Regions from separate parts of the Homo sapiens genome. Here all the other regions are linked to region 1. The links are contacts of gene promoters, found by promoter capture Hi-C in blood cells and fetal thymus (Javierre and others, 2016). All regions are on one chromosome and are shown on one strand. Each heading gives the region's core, a stretch centred on a gene start or on the middle of the fragment in contact. The rest is flanking DNA. Distances are from core to core; before and after follow the strand shown.

What was found. Contacts are between HindIII fragments. The CHiCAGO score rates a contact against its expected background, and 5 or more counts as called.
Region 2: a fragment that was not itself captured here is called in contact with the fragment with the promoter of BORCS6 in region 1 in 1 of 17 cell types (activated CD4 T cells); the score reaches 5.8 in activated CD4 T cells.
Region 3: a fragment that was not itself captured here is called in contact with the fragment with the promoter of BORCS6 in region 1 in 5 of 17 cell types (erythroblasts, non-activated CD4 T cells, naive CD8 T cells and 2 more); the score reaches 7.9 in erythroblasts.

The regions. Positions count from the first base shown.
Region 1 is chr17:8,187,058-8,192,133 of GRCh38, reverse strand. BORCS6 (BLOC-1 related complex subunit 6) reads left to right here and starts at 1,954. Exons shown (of 1, transcript NM_017622.3): 1 at 1,954-3,789. The coding sequence starts at 1,994. The coding sequence ends at 3,067. It overlaps LOC124903913 (a long non-coding RNA gene), which reads left to right. Exons shown (of 2, transcript XR_007065604.1): 2 at 1-859. It overlaps TRT-AGT1-1 (tRNA-Thr (anticodon AGT) 1-1), which reads right to left and starts at 4,974; the gene lies at 4,901-4,974. TRI-AAT5-5 (tRNA-Ile (anticodon AAT) 5-5) reads right to left here and starts at 4,541; the gene lies at 4,468-4,541. RefSeq lists enhancers at 1,495-2,140, 1,883-2,162, 2,141-2,787, 3,926-3,975 and silencers at 2,273-2,322, 2,523-2,582, 2,653-2,702, 4,836-4,945. The HindIII fragment of the contact is 3,696 bases long and covers 863-4,558 here.
Region 2 is chr17:7,888,351-7,893,151 of GRCh38, reverse strand. It overlaps CHD3 (chromodomain helicase DNA binding protein 3), which reads right to left and starts at 4,363. Exons shown (of 40, transcript NM_001005273.3): 1 at 4,052-4,363; 2 at 3,376-3,488; 3 at 2,411-2,581; 4 at 2,088-2,212. The coding sequence starts at 4,151. RefSeq lists an enhancer at 3,362-3,931. The HindIII fragment of the contact is 7,252 bases long and covers 1-4,801 here.
Region 3 is chr17:7,834,662-7,839,115 of GRCh38, reverse strand. All of the region lies in intron 1 of KDM6B (lysine demethylase 6B), which reads right to left. LOC124904106 (translation initiation factor IF-2) reads left to right here. Exons shown (of 4, transcript XM_047437265.1): 4 at 2,472-3,708. The coding sequence ends at 3,499. Among named protein-coding and RNA genes, the nearest start is that of KDM6B, 2.7 kb to the right of the region's middle. RefSeq lists silencers at 1,328-1,477, 3,018-3,077, 3,098-3,517 and enhancers at 2,348-2,397, 4,066-4,454. The HindIII fragment of the contact is 2,138 bases long and covers 182-2,319 here.

The DNA of each region.
Region 1 (5,076 bases), core at 705-3,204:
AGCTACTATCACCTGGTACTTGGAACCGCCTCCTCACTGGTCTACCGTCTCCCTTGCAAACATTTTCTACAACAGCCAGTAATCCCTAAACATGAATCCCATCACATCACTCTCTTCCTGTGCTCAGCTTCCCATTCTCAAGGGAAGTCCTCCCATCTTCTAAAGAATATCTACCTACCCAGCCCAATTATATATGAGCTTTTTAGGTTTTTTTTTTTAGAGCAAAGGAATGACAGGTTTTGTCAAGCTGCAGGTGACTATAAGATACAGACAGCTGACAATTGTGGACTCCTCAGGCGTGGTGAAAGATTGAGCTACTATCATTAGGGTTGGCTGGCTAGGACCCCGGCAGGCACCTGGGGATAGTAGTGCTGGGAAGTTCTGGGGAGTTGCACTTCTGAATGCTGGCATGACACTGCCTCAAGACATCTCTCTATCCAAATGGAAAAAACAACCACATCCTTTGTCAGCTAAGGAGAGTTAGCAAACTGTTTTTATTAAATACTGATGTCTGGCCGGGCACGGTGGCTCACGCCTGTCATGCTAGCACTTTGGGAGGCCGAGGCGGGTGGATCACTTGAGGCCAGTAGTTCAAGACCAGCCTGGCCAACATGGTGAAACCCCATCTCTACTAAAAATACAAAATTAGCCGGGCGTGGTGGCGGGCGCTTGTAATCCCAGCTACCCGGGAGACTGAGTTAGGAGAATCGCGTGAACCCAGGAGGCGGAGGTTGCAGTGAGCCGAGATCGCGCCACTGCACTCCAGCCTGGGTGACGGAGTGGGACTCTGTCTCTAAATACATAAATAAATAAATAAATAAATAAATAAATAAATAAATAAAAATACTGATGTCTCCAAGCTTTGGCTATGTGTTGCAATGTACAACCTTTCCAATGTCGCTGCACCATTGCATTTAGAGGAAATCTCCATTCCCTAACAGGAACTACAAGGCCCCCTGCATGACGTGGCCCCTGCTGCCTGTTCAGCTCCTTGGCTCGAAATCCTTCCCCTTATCTTGCTGATTTTGTTTTAGTCCCAATGTCTCCTGCCCCCTCACCTCAGTTTCTTGAATACGTCAAGACTTCTTTGTCTCTGAGAGGTAGCTCAAGTTTTCTTCTCTCTGCCTGGGGGGTGGCTGCGTCTTTTTGGTTCTTTTTAGTTAAAAGTCTCACCAAAGAGGTATTTTCCTGACCCCTTACCTAAACTAGTGCCTGCTCAGTTATATTCTCAATCATAACACTTTATTTCCTGTATAGCACATATCAAAATTTGTGATCATTTCATTTGTTGAATATTTTACCTCGTGGCAAAATCACACGCCATCCTCCAAGGGGCGAGACCCCTCAGTGTGAAAGGGGCAAGAGACACAGAACAAGAGTGACAAACGCATAGGAAAGCCCAGAGGCCGCTGCCTTGACCACAGTGGGTCGCTCTGAGCAGTTCAGTGGTTAGGTCTCTTAACCAAGAAAGATAGAGCAAACCATTCATGCTCATGCTGGACTTCTGGTTTCCTTCTTTTTAGTCAACTAGGTTCAACCCTGATGGTCCAAGAAGGATATGCCATTTTCATCCTAAGAACCTCTCTAGGAACCCCAAGTGGGCTCCCCACTTGGTATTTTTGCTAAGCAATCACTGTTGGGGGGGGTACAATTACAGGCAGAAAGGATCTGAGCCCCACCCCTCGGGACTCAGGAATTTGAGGACCTTGGTCTTTAAGATCTGCCCCATCAGCTTTCAGAAAGGGCGGGGCGACGGGAGCAGCTGTCACCTCCTTCTCTCCACCCTGCCGGCGTTCACGTGTGTTCCGCTGTGCAGTAACAGCTCTTCTTCCGGGACTTCCTGGTCGCCGCGACCAATCAAAATGCTTTTCCTGTCCTTACCATTGTCAGCCGCTGCCAATCGGCTCGCCTCTACCAACGCCCCTTAAAGGCGCAGCCACTGCCTCCGGAGCCGGGGCGAACCAATTCCTCCGTTGCGGCCCCCACCTGCAGTATGGAGTCGTCTCGGGGGCGGCCCGGGCCCGAGACGGACCTTCTGGCTGTAGCGGAACATCAGGCCCTAGTCTTTGGCGGCGGGCCGGGCCGAACGTCCTCTGAGCCGCCCGCAGGCCTCCGGGTGTCCGGGGAGGAAGAGACCGAGAACGTTGGGGGCGCGAACCGCCACCCCAGGACGTCCCCGAAGACGTCAAGCTGCGGCGTCGTCCACCGGCCGGAACGGGAGGCTCTGGAGAACGAGCCCGGCCCTCAAGGGACGCTGTCTGGGGCCGGGAGCCGCAGGGGGGCGCCGGGTGCAGAGCACGAACCTTCCCTGTCCTCCCGGCACAAGAACCCGGCGCCGCCCGAGGGCAAGCCCTCCTCCGGGAGGGACTGCCGTCGAGGGGGACCAGGCGGCGGGATGGATGTTGAGCAGCAGGAGGAGGAAGACAACGACGAGGAGGCGGCCGCGGGCAGCAGAGCCGGCCGCTCGTTCTCCAGCCGTCTTCAGGACAGCCGCAGCCTGGACGGGCTGAGCGAGGCGTGCGGTGGCGCCGGGTCCTCAGGGAGTGCCGAGTCCGGCGCGGGCGGCGGACGCCGCGCCACCATCTCCAGTCCCCTGGAGCTCGAAGGCACAGTGAGCCGCCACGGCGACCTTACCCACTTTGTCGCCAACAACCTGCAACTCAAGATCCGTCTGAGCGGCGCGCCTCCACCCCCGCCTTCTGCCCCTGCGCGGCCCTGCCCAGCGCCTGCACCCACACCCACACCGGCCATTCCCCCAATCGACCCCGAGGTGCTGCGGGATCTGGAGCGGTTGAGTCGGGAGCTGGGAGGCCGGGTGGACCGTCTGCTTCGCGGTCTGGGTGGCGCGGTGCAGGAGCTGACGGCGCTGAGCGTGGGTTGCATCCAGACCTACCGCGATGCTGTGGACTCCTTAGGTGAAGCCGTGGACATGAGCATCAAGGGCATGTACACCCTGCTGGCGCGCTGCGAGGAGCTGGAGCGGGCTCTGCAGCCGGTTCAGGGGCTGGCGCGCCAAGTCCGGGATATCCGACGTACTCTGGAGGTGTTGGAGGCCCTGTGCAAGTGACCAGGAGGACAGGAGAGGCCGGTCCTGGCCAGGGCAGGGCCCAGCAGGACCCTAAGGACTCTTCAGGGAGTCCTGGTGGGAAGTGCCCACTGAGGGGAGGCCTGTGTGTTGGAGGCTCTTCCAGATGCGTTCAGCTGGCCCGTGCCCACTCGCTGGGCCTTAGGCTGGTGTATGTGGGGAAGTTCTAACGGCTCTCCTGGTGGGAAGGGATGTTGCTCTGCTTGTATTCAGTTGGCCATCTGTAGCTACCCTGTTCTTCCCAACTCTCCTCCCTAGCTAGAGCACCAGCCCTGGGAACACGGGGCTTTAGGTCTGCTTGAAGGTGAGGACGTGACTCCCACATGTAATCAGGAGAAAGGGACAGAGGAAGCCCCAGCCCCCACTGTGGCTATCCTGACTCCAGTGGCCACATCTCAGGTGCCAGGGGCTGTGGGAGCTTGTGCCGTCCTTGGCCAAACACCCCGCAGGCAAAGATGCACCCCTGCTGATGGAGAGCCTTCTGCTTCTGCCCTCTGGCCCTCTACCATACCACTTCCCCAGCCAGAACCGGCGTGCAGCTAGGAGGAATGGGTTGCACGGCGGAGGGGGTGAGGTGGGAGGCGTCTCACTGCTCTCAGGGTTCAGGTAGAATGTTGCTGGTTTTGAAGCTCACCTGTTGTGGAGTGTTCTAATCAGTTTTGGCTTTCTGAGTTTTTGTGGAATTAAAGTGCTGCTGCTGCGAAGGCTGAGGCTGAGTCTGTGTGGGGTTGCAGTGATTAATAAGCCAAAGGAATGGGAATGAGGGTCGGTGTTGTTCACGCAGCTCCCTTGGGGCTGGTGCTGGGAGTGGGGTGGGGGTGGAGATGTCTCAGGCTCCGTGGGGAAAGATATGGTTCTTGCTCTTAAGCATCTGGTCTGAGGGGAAATGTGAGGACACAGATAATCACTCACAGGGGCCCAGAGATCCGGTAACCACAGAAACGTAAAAAAGATGCTCTAGAAGAGAAGGGGAAGAAATTGTCTTCTCAGGTCCTCATGAATAGGCAGGGGCTGGGTGGATTGGACGGACATCTTACCTCTGGGGGAAGACTGGGAACACTTGTCAGCTCTATTCCTGACCATTTCCCACACTCTGCAGATCAGTGCCACGTGGTTTGAGACAAATTTGTCCCAAAGCCTTTTGTTTACAGTTCACACAGTAAGTTCAGGAGCCATATATTGTGGCCATAAGATGTAGAAGCAAAGATCACGAAACAACCCCGGTTTCTCTCAATCCCTTCCTCTCAAGACACGCCCACTTTAGAATGCGCTCCAATACGCTCCCTGTTCTGGGATTGGAAATGTGGCGCTGTTTTTCCCCAGAGACGTTACTTGGCTCTAAAACGGAGTGCAGTAATCGTACTTTCGAAAAGTTTCAATCCTGGCCCGTACGGGGATCGAACCCGCGACCTTGGCGTTATTAGCACCACGCTCTAACCAACTGAGCTAACCGGCCAGTTGCTACGAAAAGCTTGAAATAAATCTATTTAGTTACAATACTGTTCAGTTCTCTCGGGAAAAACCTTCAGTTGTGGGACTGCTTTATGAGAAATGAAAACAGAACACAAACACTGACTAACTGAGCACCTAGACGAGTAACAGACAGTACTGGCAAGTACAGATGATGCGACTGGTGTAACTGCAGGTCGAGGCGCAAGTACCATGTGCACGAAGAGCAAAAACCCAACAGCGTGTGGCAGATGCACCGGGAGAGGATAGATGGGTACGTGAGTAAACCATGTAGGATGGAAGTTATGAGTTTCTGCAACTGTCCTCACAATGTTTAATGTTGGCAAAAGCGTGGGGGAAACACGGAGGCACCGCTGGGATTCGAACCCAGGATCTCCTGTTTACTAGACAGGCGCTTTAACCAACTAAGCCACGGCGCCGCCGGAAAGACGCTTAGGATCTTGTTTCCTTGGCCAGGTCAGCTGAATTGCAGAGAATGAATACAAAGATGTCACAAAAAGTCGGCTGCATACGAAAATGAG
Region 2 (4,801 bases), core at 1,670-4,169, 300 kb after region 1:
CCATTTAAAAAAATAAATAAAAAGAAGTTTAAAAAAAGCGGGGAAAGAACAGGTTTAAAAAAGCATTAAAAAAGAAATACAGGCCAGGCACGGTGGCTCATGCCTGTAATTCCAGGCTGAAGCAGGAGGATTGCTTGAGCCCAGGGCTATGAGATAAGCCTGGGCAACAAAGTGAGATCCTGTCTCTACAAAAAATTAAAATAAAAAAAAATAATTAGCTGGGTGTGGCAGCACCTGAGGCTGAGGCAGGAGGGTGGCTTGAGCCCAGGAGTTGGAGGATATAGTGAGCTATGATCACACCACTGCAGTGCAGCCTGGGTGACAGAATGAGACCCTGTCTTTAAAAAAAGGGAAATAGGCTGGGCGCAGTGGCTCACGCCTGTAATCCCAGTACTTTGGGAGGCCAAGGTGGGAGGATCACGAGGTCAAGAGATGGAGACCATCCTGGCCAACATGGCGAAACCCCGTCTCTACTAAAAATACAAAAATTAGCTGGGTGTAGTGGTGCGCACCTGTAGTCTCAGCTACTCGGGAGGCTGAGGCAGAAAAATTGCTTGAACCTGGGAGGCAGAGGTTGCAGTGAGCCAAGATTGCGCCACTACACTCCAGCCTGGCGACAGAGTGAGATTCCATCTCAAAAAAAAAAAAAAAAAAAGGGGAAATAAAAAACAGCGAAATAAAACTTAAAAGCATAAAAGGTTAAAATAAAATCAACAAAAATGCTTTACTTTTGTATACTACTTTACAGTTCATAAAACCCTTTCACATACATTCCACCTTATCTTGTCCTCACAATAATACTCTTGAGTTGCTATGATTCTCTGCATTTTACTAGTAAGTTCCATGGGCCCTGAAGATGGGCTTCCGTAGGACGGAGTGTGAAAGAGTCAGACCATGCTGGTTCTGCTCTGGGGTGGGGTGCTCAACTCTTGTGCGGACACGGGTGATCCATGGTGCTGAGAAAAGCCCCAAGTTCAGCAGTAAGGTAGGTGAGACAACGTTACTAATGACAGTCACCAGTTACTGAATGCTCCCTAGGAGCCAGGCACTGACGGTACTGTGCTTTCCATTCATTATCCCACCAAACCCACACAGATTCCTATGAGGTATATATTATTATTCCCCGTTTATAGAAGAGGAAATTGAGGATTGAAGAAGTTCAGTCACTTGCCCAAAATGTAACCAGATGTGAACCTCAGCAGCTGCCTCCAGAGCACTGAACTGATATGTTAAAGTGCCTTCTCCCCAAAACAAAATACATCGGCACTATTTTTTCTTTTTTTTTTTTTGAGACGGAGTTTCGCTTGTTGCCCAGGCTAGAGCATAGCAGTGGTGTGATCTCGGCTCACTACAACCTTTGCCTCCCGGGTTCAAGCGATTCTCCTGCCTTAGCCTCCCGAGTAGCTGGGATTACAGGCATGTGCCACCACGCCCAGCTAATTTTTTTGTATTTAGTAGAGACGGGGTTTCACCATGTTGGATGGGCTGGTCCTGAACTCCTGACCTCAGGCGATCCACCTGCCTTGGCCTCCCAAAGTGCTTGGATTACAGGCATGAGCCACTGCACCTGGCCCATCTCTGCTATTTTCTACTCTACTATTCTCTACTTTTCTTCAGGAGCCACTGAAGCTCAGGTCCCACTGCCAGCAGTGGACCCTCCATTATTACCAGGGCCTAAGGAAGGGGCACAGGACCTGCTAAGTGAGCTAAGGAAGTTCAGGAACACTGATGGTATCTCTCAGGTCCAGTCTAGAGAGAAGTCACAGAGCAGAAGATGGAGCTGTTGGGGCAGGGGAGGGCTCACTATATTCTGTCCTCACTTTATTCTGTTGCTAAAGAGTTCTCTAACCCAGCACTGGAATCATGATGGCCCCTCCACCCCTCGCCCCTCAGTGAAGAGTTCTCAACTGGGGTTCTTGGATCCTTATGAGTCTAGGAGTTCCCTGAAATGACGTGTAGAATTTGGTGTGTATACACCGTGAATTCTCTGGAGAGCAGTTTCATAGCTTTCATCAGATTCCAAGGGGTCCAGGACCTCCCTCAAATTAAAAGTGTCAATTAGCGAGGATTCCCCAGTCTTACCGCACCTCATGAACTGGCTGAAGGCTTTGTAGTTGGTGAGCGTGTGGTAATCCTCCTCAGAGAACACATGCTCCACATCCTCCAGGCCCCAGGTCAGAAGCAGAGTTGCTGATGACTTCTGTTCCACTTGCTGCGGGAGAGGGGCTTTGGTGAAGTAGGTGCTCCTCCAGCCCCTATTCCAGGCCGCACACAGGCCTGTCTACCTACCCACTAGCTTCCCTGGGCTTTCTTGCTTCTTGCCCCATTCTCCAGTCCAGTCTCCATTCCTCCCCTCCTCATGCCCGTCTTTAATGCAGATTTCTCACTCTCATTCCCTAATTCTACTCACCTTTTGCCCCCCATCTCCCTCCCCCTTTTTCCGCCGCTTTGTCTTCTTCTCCTTTTTTTCTCGGTGCTTCCTTCTTCGTTTCCGACCCGGTCCGGTTCCATATTCACTGCCCCCACTCTCTGACTTCTCCCGGTACTCATCTCGCTCAGAACCAAATTCCTCCTCACTGTCCTAAGAGAAAGAAATAAAAATAACATTTATTCATCCCTACCATTGCCAGAAACTGTTCTCAGCACATACCATATCTTACCTCTTTTAATCTTCACAACAATCCTGTGATAGTAACTAATTTTTTATCTCCTTTTTTTTTTTGGAGATGGAGTCTTGCTCTGTCACCCATGCTGGAGTGCACTGACGTGATCTCGGCTCACTGCAACCTCCACCTCCCGGGTTCAAGCGATTCTCCTGCCTCAGCCTCCTGTGTAGCTGGGATTACAGACGTACCACCGCGCCCGGCTGATTTTTGTATTTTTAGTAGAGACGGAGTTTCACCACATTGGCCAGGCTTGTCGCGAACTCCTGACCTCAAATGATCTACCCGGCTCAGCCTCCCAAAGTGCTGGGATTACAGGCGTGAGCCACTGCAACCGGCCTTTATCTACTTTTTACAGATGAGGAAACTAAGGCACAGAGAGCCAAATAAACGGCCTGGTATCCTAGACAGAGGAATGCTGGACTCTTGAATTCATACAGTCTTCCAGAGCTTGTGCTTTCAACTGCTTCTCTTTGCTGCTGAGGACACACTGACAACGAGGCTCTTCACTAGGTTGCAGTGAATGAAGTTAGGGTCCCAGATCCCTGAGATACAGGCCAACAGTGGCAGGGAAGTGGGGGGCCCGGGGGATCAAGCCTCCCTGGCTTCAGAACCCCACCCCCACACCAGTAATCAGGACCAGAGAAAATGTAGGTCTCTGAGAATGGGTCTCTTGAGCCTTGCCACAGAGTTAGGAATTCTTGACACTTACACGCTTCTTGCGTTTTCGGGGTTTTCCTGGCTTGTTCTCCTTCTGCTTCTTGGGTCCTCGTTTTCTCTTCTTCACACCCAATGCTGACGGCAGCAGCCGAATGTCATCCTTATCTTTGAAGCAAAAAGCATCAGAAAACCTAAGCCTCTAGGTTTCCAGCCTCTGAGGCCCCTCAACTTGCCCCTTCCCCACCTCGGCAGTTCCCACTCTCTAGGAAGCATTAACTCCTCCAAGCCCTGCCTCCCTTCACTGGATGCAAACAGAAAGTGTTTCGAGTACTCTGGGATGCTCTGGTTCTGAATGGGAGGTCAGGGGTCAGAAGAGAAGAGCAGCCAAACCACTCCCCTCCCTCCCCTCCTACTAACAAGAGACCAGGCTCCAGGCCATGGGCTCTGACTGTGGCAGGTCCTTTCAGTCACCGCCAGGGCTCCTCCTGCCTTCCCCCTCACTTCGCCAGCTGGCATCCTGCCCAGGAACTGGGGAAGCCATGCCCAGCTGCTGGCCTGGCCTGACCCCAGCACTTGGAGTGGGGAGACACAAGCTGGCAGCTCCCTAAGCCAGATGCTGGGGAGGGAGAGCCAAAGGTGGACACCTGGGTTCTCACACTAACACCCTGGGGCCCTGACATCCTTTTGCCAAGAGGGAGGCCTCTATTTACATTTCCTCGGATAATTACCAGGCATCCTGTCACCCCAACACAGTCCTGGAGGAAAAGAAATCCTCAGCTGGTCATTTTTACTTCTTGCCCACAGGATCACAGTGTCTGCCGCCTTCATCACACAGGAGAAAGTCTCCACAATTACCTAAATATTCCTCCTCCCAAGTAGCCTAAAACCTACCTTCAATTCTATTCCCATCTCCCTGCTCCCTTTGGGAACTAGGGGGCCATACCCTTTGTTTCCCGATCTCACCCTTCACCTCCATATTTTGTTCCAGATATCCTGACCCATTCATCTATACGCAGTATGGGAGACCCAAACAAAGATATAGGCACAGACAGACACACCCAGCATATGCCTTCTCAAAAGCACGCGCGCGCACGCGCGCACCCACACCCACACACACTCTCAGGCCCACAAATCCAGAGGATGGCCTGTACCTGCTTCAGCAGGGATAGGTCCCTGGCTTTCTCCCCAGATGTCTCTGCCAGAGGACCCCAGGCCCCCCACCCCATTATCTGTGAAGGTGTCACTCTGTGAAGGCTTGGGGAACGGAACGGAGAGTTACCCCACATAAAGGAAGACAGGATGCCCCACAGACCTGGGGCCCTGGGGCTCTGGTTCACGTCCCTCCCCTACCAAGCACTAGACTAACCAGCCAGACCTGTCTAGTACAGAGAGAGGCAGCCGATGCAAGATGGGAAAGCCTGGGCTTGGCCCAGCCCCTAGCTCTAGGACACACAATCCTTTCTCCTTCCCTCAACAGC
Region 3 (4,454 bases), core at 1-2,500, 350 kb after region 1:
GCTCCTCAGGGACCTATGTTTTCTGCTCCCTTAATCATAGTTCTCTGCCCTTATGGACCCAAACACTTGGGGTCCCAATCTAATCTCTATATTCCCTAGCCTTCCGGCCCCCATCCTTCCCCTTGCCTCAGAGACTCAGGCCTCTAGCCCCCAGTCTCCATGATGCAATGTTCCGCAAGCTTCTGTGGCTGCTGATGACACTGCCCCCAGGGAGGTGCTATTTGTGACCCACCAAGGCCTCCTTCCTAAGCCAGGGTAGTGGTCAGCTGTAGGTGGTAGAGGTCAGGCAGGCAAGGCCCTTCTGCTCGGGAAGGGAGCTTCAGGCTAGAACTCTCCAGGACAGGGAGGCTCATAACCTGGGAGCAGAGAGTGTGTATCTATAGTCTGTGGCATCTGTGTTCTGCGGTTGTGCTGGGGGGAGGGACTAGGAAAGGGCTAGTCGAGAGCAGAGTGGGCAGACTTTAGGACAGACCAAGAGGAGGAGTGAGGGGGAAGCCTAGGGGGTCAGAGGGTGTGTGAGGGGTGTCTGGACAACAGAGTGGGGGAGGGGCTAACAGCCATTTAAAGGGCCAGCCCCAGAGCTTTAATCCCTCACCAGCCCTGGCCCCAAGCCGGAGGCTGTAATTCATCTGTCCAACAGCTGGGGTGTGTGTGTTTGTGTGTGTGTGGGGGGGGGGGCTTCCTCCCCCTTCTATTCCCTCCCTCCTCCTCCCCGTCCCTGAGTCCCGGAGTCAAACAAAGAACTGTAGCAGGCTCTCCCCAACCCCCTCCCTCCTCCTCCTCCTCCTCCTCCACCTCCTCCTCCCCTCCCTCCCTCCCCACCAGCAGGCTCCCTCCTCCTCCCTTCCGGTCTCTTCCTTTAACTACCCGCCCCCCCAGCCCCCAGCACTAGTCTCTCTCCACCCACCCACCCCAACCTTTTACACACCCCTCAGCCTAGCCCTGTCCCCACTAGAGAAACTGTGGAGTCCCTCTGCAAAACGAAAGGCTCCAGAGATCAACACGGGAGGGGGCTGGGGTCTTGCTTCAAAATCAAGAACCATAATACAATTATTTTATTTTCAAGGCCCACGGAATAGTCTTAGCTATTTCTTGTCCAAGAGAAAAAAAAATAATCCTAAAGAAAGCAATACAAATCTGCCTAAAGCCTTCATCAAATAAAATGCACAAAGCAGTTGAAGCTAATCCCCAGCCCCCTAACCCCAATCTCCAAATTAACACAAACTATCCACTACCCCTTAACAAACTCCTACGGTTACCGCTGGTTTGGAGCAGACCCACAGCAATAATAATAAACTAGTAACTAACACCATTTAATAATAAAAGTATTTCATAACAACAAGCACTCATTCTGTGTTCATTCTGTGCCAGGCACTGTGCTAAGTGATTTGCATAAATTATCTCATTTTTTTCCTCCCAGCGGCCTTCAAGGTAGGTGTTGATATTTAAATGTTCAAGATTAACATACGAGGCTCAGAGAGGTTCTGACCTCTCCAAGTCCTAGTAGCCACTAAGTGACAGAGCTAGAATTAGAATCCAGGTCTGATCTGACAGCCCAAGCTCTAAGGTACATAAAAGCACAAACCGATTCATTCCAATACCATCACCAACCCTGGGACTTAATAGAGAAGAACAACCATAGCAATCAACTGAGTCCCCCTCCACCAAGTGAGAGGCTACAAACCGATTCACCCGCATACACACAATAAAGACCCTGACTTTTCAGCCTAATACTGTTTCTTGACCCTTTTCCTTTCATTGTTTGCAGATGGGGGTGTGCCATTATGGGGATTTCAGGGATAAGCTGGTGTGTAGTGAACCCCCCCCCATACTACACACAACTCTTCCGTCTTTCAACCACTCCCACTTCAAATCAATCTGGGGAAGGGGGCAATAGGACACTTGGCCATGCAGCAGGTGGGAAAGTAAAATGACGGCTAGGTAGCTTTTTCTATGGGGGCGGAGCCTTGGAGGGGAAGCTCTTCTGTGCCAATCTAGGGAAAAGTGACCCAAGGCTCCCTCAGCCCAGCAAAGGGGCAAAGTCTTTCAGCCACACCACACCCGTGCCCCTCCCCCTCACAAAACTCCAGGCCGGGGTTTCCCACCTGCAGGATGCTAAGACCACGGGAAGGGAGAGGGGAAAGAGATGGCACGGGACTGGAACTGGACTCGGGGCAGAGGTGGGAGGGAATAGAAGGGGGAGGAAGCCTCATTGCCTGGCAACCATCCCGGGGCACGTGCACTAGTGACATCATCCCAGGCCACCTCTAACACAGACCTTTGACCCCTACGGGGCGGAGTGGGTGTGCTGGCTAAGCTTCCTGGAAACACTGGAAACACCCTTAGGAATTCTGGGAACCCAAAAAGGAGACATAAGAAGAAACCCAGGCGTCCTTATCTCTTTTACCCCTAATACGACTCCAATCCCAGGGACTCAGGCCTCTTGCCTGTCTCCTCCTCTCCGCCTGCAGCCCTGACCTCCCAACCCACATTTCTGACGGGAGTCGGCCCGACACGCCCCTCGGAGATACTGTGCCTTCTCTCTCCTGGGCGAGATCTCGGTGGGGGCCGGCAGGCGGGGACGGGGGCACCGGGTCCCGCGGGGCTCCGTCTTCCATCTGCAGGATCCCCCGTGCCCCAGCCGGCCGCCAGCCGGAATCTGTCTGGGTCCCCAACTCTCCCGCCCCTCCCCGCGCTGTTCCAGGGCGGAGTCTGTGGAGTTGAAACCAGGACACGGCGAGAGGAAGAGTTATATAACCGGGAGAAGCGAAGAAGGACGAGTGGAGACAGGGACAGACAGCCCGAAAGGAGCCGAGGGAGGTGCAAAGAACGCCGGGGCGAACGAGGAGGAAACGTTAGGAATGGGAAGGGTTTTGGTGCACATCAAAGAGCAGGAATTCACGCGAAGAAGGGGCGTGATGGCCCAGAAGAATCACCTGGGCCGTCCGGGGCTTCCCCGCAGTGCCCTCCTCCGCCACCAACAGCAGCTGGGCCCGGGCGGGAGAAGCCTTGGGAAGGGGCGCTGGTACCCGCTCGCTTTCTCTTGGGAAAGCAACTTAAGCCAGAGCCCGGGAAGGCAGCGGCCGAGCAGATGGGGCCGGAAACCACAGCTCCGCCCAGCCCACCTGGGAGTGTGGGGCGCCAGCTGGGGGGAGGTGGGGAACAGGTAGTCGGCCCTCCCGAGCCAGGCTGGGCATTATGGTCGCGACCGGCGAAACGGTGCAGACCGACCGAGACGTGTGGGTCCCCAGGGGCTGAAGAGCGCAGCCTCAGGCGGCTTTACACAGACTCCACGAGGGGAGGGGGGCGCCCGGCTCGCCGCGCAGGCGCAAGGGGGTGCTCGGGCGCGTGCGGCGCAGGGCGGGGGGTGGGCGCGAGCGTGTGGGAGTGCACGTGCGGGTCCCAGGCAGCTGCTGCCTCCCAGCCTCCGCCGCTGCCCCTCCCCTCTCCCTTTCCTGTCGCTATCATCCCCCTTCCCCATTGGCTGCCAGGGCCCTGACGTCAGGGCCGACCGCTGGAGCGGATTGGGCGGACGGGAGAGTTCGGGAATCCGGCTCCCAAGTCTCGCCCTCCAGTTACTCTGGCAACAGGACAAGCAACCCAGGGGAGGGAAGGGGAGCCGAGGTCAACGCTGCGCCTCGGTCCCTAACCCCCTCCGGACAACCACCGAGTCCCCTTCGGTCGCGGCGCAGCTCGCTACCTCCCCGCCTTCCTCCCAGGGCTCTTCCTGTCCCGGGAACCAGGCGTCCTGCCCTCGGCCTTCCCCACAGTCTTCAGGCCCTCCGCTGTCTCTAACCCCCACCAGTGTCACAACATAAGCTGCAGCAAACAGGAAGCGAATCTACGTCGCTTAGCAACCACCCCGCGTGCCCCCCTCCCCACTATTTACCCCAGCCGGGAGAGGCGGAGATTGAGTCCCCAGCCCCCTCCCCGTCTTCTGCGCTGCGACCTCCTGCCCACAATTTCCTGTGAGGGGGCCCAGATCACAGGAAGTCAAGTGGGGGCCTCAGCCTACCTTTCCCTCGGACCGGGGCGGGGGGCTTCAGCTACTTTCACGGTCACATCCCCCACCTGCCCTGGGTGCGTCTCGCCCTCGCCATCTTGTGGCTACGTTGGGAAGGCTCCGCACCGAGAAGCCGTGCGGGGCGCGCTAGGGTTCGGGAACGGCGGAGTGGGAGAAGGACTAGGGATGAGGAGGCTAGCGGGGCGAGACGGAGTGAAAGGGAGGCGCAGGGGGGTGGTGGGAAGAAGGCGAAGGCTACCGCTGGGAAGCTCTCGGGGCCGCTGGTGGGAAGGTCAGGCTGAGGCTTCTACACCTCACCCGTGCAGAGAACTGGAGGGAGACTTAAAGTAGTCCTGGGACCGGGACACACCCAAGTCTGACCACATCTGACCTTACTGGGCCATGGCATTGACCTGTCTGCAAACTCTGCCCTTTAGTCCTGCCCTTCAGT